Linked DNA regions of Homo sapiens: region 2 is linked to region 1. Evidence: promoter capture Hi-C in human tissues and cell types (Jung and others, 2019). All regions are on one chromosome and are shown on one strand. The core of a region is centred on a gene start or on the middle of the fragment in contact, and the rest is flanking DNA. Distances in the headings are between cores, read along the strand shown. Region 1 holds the start of SOX10 (SRY-box transcription factor 10). Region 2 overlaps PLA2G6 (phospholipase A2 group VI).

What was found. The method cuts DNA at HindIII sites, captures the fragments that hold promoters and counts their contacts. A contact is called where the count stands out against the background at its distance.
Region 2: a contact is called between a fragment that was not itself captured here and the fragment with the promoter of SOX10 in region 1, in 4 of the 25 tissues and cell types used here (dorsolateral prefrontal cortex, hippocampus, lymphoblastoid cells and 1 more).

The regions. Positions count from the first base shown.
Region 1 is chr22:37,982,816-37,986,164 of GRCh38, reverse strand. SOX10 (SRY-box transcription factor 10) reads left to right here and starts at 1,610. Exons shown (of 4, transcript NM_006941.4): 1 at 1,610-1,826; 2 at 2,297-2,808. The coding sequence starts at 2,381. It also overlaps a transcript of POLR2F not described here. RefSeq lists enhancers at 1-549, 2,504-3,341. The HindIII fragment of the contact is 28,697 bases long and covers 1-3,349 here.
Region 2 is chr22:38,171,927-38,175,275 of GRCh38, reverse strand. The region is part of intron 1 of PLA2G6 (phospholipase A2 group VI); the gene reads left to right. Among named protein-coding and RNA genes, the nearest start is that of PLA2G6, 8.2 kb to the left of the region's middle. RefSeq lists a cis regulatory region at 1,094 and an enhancer at 1,022-1,166. The HindIII fragment of the contact is 3,596 bases long and covers 1-3,349 here.

The DNA.
Region 1 (3,349 bases), core at 361-2,860:
CCGAGCGGGCGCTGTTAAAAAGCTTTTTATGTGTGTGTGTGTTAATCACATGATTGCCGTTCACCTGTATTTCGAACAAAGACAGCTCACTGTTTCAAGGCCCCGAACAAGAGTCTGGGCACAGGGAAGAGAAGGGAGGCGGGGGGAGGAGGGTTGGCAGCGCCGGGGGTGGCGTCGAGGAAAACTGGGGGGAGATTGTCCAAGGCCAGCAAGCGAGAGAAAGAGAAAACCCTTATCAAACTCCTAATTCACTGGGCTCCGAGGCCCCAGACACACTGGCCCGATTGTCTGGCTGGTTGTGTGTGTGAGCATGTGTGTGTGTGTGTGTGTGTGTGTGTGTGTGTGTTCCAGTGTCTGCTCCCCCCACCCCCAACATGCCTCTGCCTCGTGTGACTACCTCATTGTGTCCCATTTCCCACCCCCTACACCCCTTTGGACTTTCCCAAGCATGAGGCCTTGCCTCCCCAGACCCTTTGCAGCCCACTCCAGACAGGACCCCTTGGGGTGGTCTTGGGGCTTTGCCCTGCTGTTGAGGAGCTCAGAACGTCACATGGTTGCCAATGCGACCCCAGCTCCATTACATAACCCACATACACCCCACCTCGGCCTCAACACCCCGGCGGGGCTGCCCTCAGTTAAGAGAACAGCACTGCGACCTTTGGAGGAGAGGCCAAGGAAAGAGAGAGAAAAAGGTGTCAACGGAGGATGGGCAGGAAAGAAAAGGGGAGGGAGGGAGAGGTGGGCAGAGGAGGGAAGAGGCAGGGCAAGTCCCCACCCCTTGTTGGGGTGGGGGAGTAGAGGACTTCGTGACAATCAGGACTAGGACTCCCCTACCCTCTCCCAAGACAGGGTGAGCCCAGTGTGGAAGGAGCTGGGTCCCAGTAGGTAGCAACCCAAAATGCCTCTAAGACCTACTGAGAGAGGGCCCCCAACCTGTCCCACCTTGGCCTCCTGGCAGCTTTAGTCTTGTGTTTCCACCTTGAACCAGACCAGAACGCGCGTGTGCTGGGTGTCTGCAGAGAAGGGACCAGGGGTCAAGCTGGGGCTCTGCACTTCTCAGAGGGATCCCTGAGAAGTCTCTCTTACTGTGCAGGATGGGGCAGAAAGGGCTGCCTGGGAAAAGGTAGGAGGCAGGGTGAGGAGCTGGGCATCAGTGCCTGGCACACACTAGGCACTCAACAGGATTTCGCAGACGAAGCAGCTAGGGCCAGCCACCCTCACGGGCCCCCAGGACCCTCACCGCCTTCACGTCTCTCCCTAGTCCCCTGCCAAGTGCCCATCCTGCCACCTGAGGCAGACGTTAGGAGTCCTGGTTGGGCCCAATTTTCTTCCATCCAACAGGTTCTGACCCTCCAGCCTACATCTCTTCCTTCCTCGGCCTAACCTCCCCTCCACCTCCCAGACTAAGCCCAAGATAAGCCTCAGCAAGATGGGCCTGGGCAGTAGGGCAGGGAGCTGGGTGGGGGGGCCTGGGCTCCGGGTGGAGGAGCCCTGAGTGTTGGGGATGAAGGAAAGCCTGGAGGCTCCACCTTCTGCCCTTCCCTCCCTCCTCTCCCCTCCCCCCTCTCCCCCTCCTTCCTTCCCCAGCCCTCCGCAGCGGCTCAGGCTCAGTCGCTCAGTCAGTCTCGGGCTGTCCGGCCAGGGTGGTTGGTGGTAAGGATTCAGGCTCCGTCCTAACGAGGCCGTGGCCTGAGGCTCAGGGCCCCCCGCCCCTCCCTCCCAGCCCACCAGCGTCACCTCCCAGCCCCGAGCTGGACCGCACACCTTGGGACACGGTTTTCCACTTCCTAAGGACGAGCCCCAGACTGGAGGAGAGGTCCGAGGAGGTGAGTGCGCAGCCTGCTCCTCCCTGGCCCGCCCAGGCCTGGGACCCTGCTGTGAGGTGGAGAGAGGCGACACCCCGCCCTTGCCCCCCACCTGGCTCTCCTCTAAACCCCGTTGGGGCAGGCTGAGGGAAGAAGGAAAGGTGAGAGAAAAGGTGGGAAATTCCAGGGGCCGGGATTAGAGCAAAATAAAGGCTCCGTTTTTTTCTTCCTTATCATCAACAAACCTCCACCCAAAAAAGGAGGCTAAAAAAAAAGCCACCCACACCAAGAGACGGTTGGGACCAGGTGGTGGGAAGACACAGAGGCGGGACGCACCCACCTAGAGTCTGGCATGTGCGTGGGCCCCAGGGGCCAGATGGGTTTAGCTGGAGCAGGAAGGGCCGCCACCTCGGGGCTGTGCCCACGTCCTGTCTCGGGCCGCCCTCGGGGCTGCGCGCGCGGCCGCTCCATCGCGCCCTCCTTCCATCCAGGTGGGCGTTGGACTCTTTGCGAGGACCCCGGCGGCTGGCCCGGGGGAGGCGGCCGAGGCGGCGGCGGCGGCGGCCGGGGGCGACATGGCGGAGGAGCAGGACCTATCGGAGGTGGAGCTGAGCCCCGTGGGCTCGGAGGAGCCCCGCTGCCTGTCCCCGGGGAGCGCGCCCTCGCTAGGGCCCGACGGCGGCGGCGGCGGATCGGGCCTGCGAGCCAGCCCGGGGCCAGGCGAGCTGGGCAAGGTCAAGAAGGAGCAGCAGGACGGCGAGGCGGACGATGACAAGTTCCCCGTGTGCATCCGCGAGGCCGTCAGCCAGGTGCTCAGCGGCTACGACTGGACGCTGGTGCCCATGCCCGTGCGCGTCAACGGCGCCAGCAAAAGCAAGCCGCACGTCAAGCGGCCCATGAACGCCTTCATGGTGTGGGCTCAGGCAGCGCGCAGGAAGCTCGCGGACCAGTACCCGCACCTGCACAACGCTGAGCTCAGCAAGACGCTGGGCAAGCTCTGGAGGTGAGCACCCGACCGCCCCCCGGGCTCGGGCCCTCTAGCTTCGGGTGGATTCAGGGTAGCCGAGGCGGCCCGGCCTCCTGCACCTCAGAGCGGGACTGTCTGGCAGTCCTCCTTGGATAGGGCTGGAAGACCAGGTGTGGGGGCCGCGCCCGCCCTTCCATCACAAGGACCCTGGAACTCGGAACTCCAGCGGCCTAGGCCGGGTCTCCCTACGGGGCGGCGGGCAGGAAGGCGCCCCCTCGTGGTTGGAATTTTGCGGGTGGCAGACCGTGGGGCCTGGGGCTTTGGAGGGAGGGAAGGAGGCCTTCACTAACTCCTGCCCACAGATACGCACACTATGCCACCAGCTGCTGTGGTCAGGAGGATACGAGGGAAACGCTTGGAAAGAACCAAAGGGTTGGCTGGAGATTCAGGGAAACTGAGGCAGTCAGATGGAGAACTCAGGGGAGGTTTAAAGAAAACGGAATTCAGATGAGAGTCTTTGGAAGAGTGAGGGATGAAGAACTGCGGGACAAATCTGCTGCTGCGGGACCTCATCCTA
Region 2 (3,349 bases), core at 521-3,020, 190 kb before region 1:
CTGGTGCTCTGAGCATTCAGAGGGGGCAGCTGGGCCTTGAAGGATGAGCAGGGGCTCCAGCAGGAACTGGAGAGCGCATTCCAGGGAGGACGCAAGTGCAGGCCCCTTTCACTACAGAAAAGCAGTTTTCACACAGACCTTCCAAAGGGGAGGAGAGGGGACTGCCTGGGCCTGGCAGCTGCGGCAGGTAGCAGCAATCAGAGGGCAGGGACCGCTCCTCCCGTGCCTGAGACCTGCCCAGGGTCCTTCAGGGAATTCGTAGCTGAGGAGGAACCAGATTTTTGGGACTGAGTTCTCCCTCACCACCCGCTCTGAGCCACCCTCTTGGTCCCTTGTCCTCTACTGCACTTCTTCCGGGGCTTGGCTCCTCGTCATGAGAGGAGCTTCCCTGGGCATGGCGAGGGGCGTGACTGACATAGCAGCCCTGGACAAGTGGCTCCAGGTGACCTGTGTTCACGTTGATCACAGCACTAACCACGGCCCCTCCTCTCAGCACCTTCCCCTCTCGAGCCGTCCAGTCCCAGTGAAAATGCTCACCGTTCATGGGTGGGCTGAGCAAGCCCCTGATCTCTGCCTTCCTCCGTGTTCTGATCTGCTTCATCTGCTGTGAAGGCCTCTCGCCATTTCCCCCGCTGGCAAACTCCTGTTCTTCCTGGAAAGTTCAGCTAAAAAGTCATCCCCTTTAGGGGTCCTTCCCTCAGGGGACCGTGCACTTGGCGAGACAGGGACTGGTCTTGGGTCTCTCTGTTGACTGTTTTATGAACCCAGGTAGTCACTTCCAGGGAACTCATCAGAGATGCTACCATTGGCTCCAATCTCCCTCTGTTCCCACTCGAGGTTTTTTGTTTCTTCGTTTGTTTTTCTTTCTTTCTTTTTTTTTGAGACAGAGTCTCGCTCTCGCCCAGGCTGGAGTGCAGTGACATGATCTCGGCTCACTGCAAGCTCCGCCTCCCGGGTTCACGCCATTCTCCTGCCTCAGCCTCCCGAATAGCTGGGACTACAGGCACCCGCCACCACGCCCAGCTAATTTTTTTTGTATTTTTAGTAGAGACGGGGTTTCACCATGTTAGCCAGGATGGTCTCAATCTCCTGATTTCGTGATCCGCCCGCCTTAACCTCCCAAAGTGCTGGGATTACAGGCGTGAGCCACTGCGCCCAGCCCGTTTGTTTTTGTTTTTTGGTGGACATCAACTTTAATTTGCCCTTTGTTTTGTTTTGTTTTTGAGGCAGGGTCTTGCTCTGTCTCCCAGGCTGGAGTGCAGTAGTGCAATCTTGGCTCACTGCAGTCTCGACCTCAAGAGGATCAAGCAATCCTCTTGCCTTAGCCTCCCGAGTAGCTGGGACCACAGGCGCACACCACCATGCCCAGCTAATTTTATTTTATATTTTGTAGAGACAGGGTTTTGCCATGTTCCCCAGGCTGGTCTCAAATTCCTGGGCTCAAGCAATCCGTCTGCCTCAGCCTCCCAAAATGCTGGAATTACAGGCACGAGCCACTGTGCCCGGCCTTAATTTGCCCTTTGAACATGTACAATTCAGGGCCTCTCTGGGCCTCAGTTTCTTGATCTCTGAGATGGGAAGATGGGATAATAATACTTGTTCCTCCCGTCCTTCAGCTCCTCCAGGGGACCCTCACACCAGCACACTCTCTGTCAGTCTTCCCTCAATGAACCCAGCAGGCAAGCTTGGTTTTGACAGAGGATGGGTGAGCAGAGATAAGGAAAACGGCCAGAAATATCTGGCTTCCCTCAGCAGGGGCACCAAAATTGGTACCTGGAAATTGCCTGGCTTGGACAGGCAGAATTGTCACTGTCAACCCCCACCACCAAAGGTCTTGGGTCTTTGTCTTTCTGCTTGTGGTGTTTGAGAGAGCTGCTTGACACAGCCGAGGTGCGGTCTGTGTCAGGTGACCTGGGCATCCTGGGGGTGCAGGGAGAAGCCCAGGTAAGGAGGAGGAGGGGCCGGTCATCAGTGGGGAAAAGTGATTGTCTACCCCACGGGAAGGTCAAGGGTAGGACGCTGTGAGAAGCCAGGGGGAGAGATGAAGTGAGGCATGATGCGGGGGGCCCTCATCCACCATCCCCCTCTTGCAGCTGTGCTGGGAAGAGCCTAGGCTCCAGGGTCCAAGGTGGCAGGGACAGAAGGAAGCACGTGTGAGCACTTTCTCCCTGCTGGCCCGCCTTCCTGGTTGGCAATGCCGTGAGTGTTCCAGGATGTGGCCCCGTGGCTGTCATTTCCTTTCTTCCACCTAGTGATAACAATGGCCACTGTTTGTGTGCCCACAGTCGGCCTGTGTCCCAGACACCTTCCCTCCATTGCGTCATCTCGTCCTCCTGCCTACCCTGAAGGCTGGATGCCAGCCAAGCCTGTCGTTTCTGTGGCCATGCTGTCGTGGGTGTGTGGGGGGCATCCCCTAGCCCCAGGCTCTGGTGGGGGGTACACAGGCTGGGCCATTGACGAAGGGGTGTGTGGAATCTTTCTTTGATTTCACTGCACCCCTGGTGACTTTCTCCCTCAATCTGAGGCTCATGGGTGCTGGATGCTCTTGACTCTCTGCCCTTCCTGGGCGCACCCCTCCGCGTCCCTGTGGGCCCGTCCTCGGGGTAGCCTCTCTGCGCTCTTCCAGGCCAGGCCTGAGTCCCACAGGTCCCCATCTTCCCGGCTGCAGCCCCCAGAGGCTCAGCCTATACTGCTACTTCCTTTGAAAACTATAATCGCTTTACATAGCATCTGGAAAATAGGGAAAAGGAAAAAACAAAAGCCCATAAACCCAGCACCCTCATCTACTCAATGGCATGTTTTCTGTCAGTCTATCTTGGTTTGTTTTCTATCAGGCTTTGTTTTTTCTATGCATAATATTTACTCAGTTAAATTTTTGTTTTGACAAACTTTCTGTGAGCCAAGCTTGTGGACGGAGATGAAAAGACGAGCAGCTGCCTTTGAGAAACTCAGACTCTGGGCCAGCCCATCTGGGTGCCAGCTTTCACTGCTCCACCCACTAGCTGGGTGACCCTGGGCCCGTGACTTTACCCCTCTGTTCTTTGGTGTTCTCATATGTAAAATGAGGATAATAATAGTAACCAGTTCATAGAGTGGTTGTCAGACAGAATGATTAATGTACGTAAAGCTTTCAGGATGGTGCCAGCAAGATGCACAGGAGTGTTTGGTAGGAGGATGACGAAGCTTACCGTCTGGCAGGAGGGGCAGTTGTAACATGCTGGGCTGTGATAGTACAGATGTGTTTAAAGTGAGGGAGAGCCCAGAGCAAGGAGAGAGAACCTGGCATCTGGTGATGGTGTATCAAGAACATTTTAGGCCAGACACGGTGACTCACACCTGTAATCCCAGC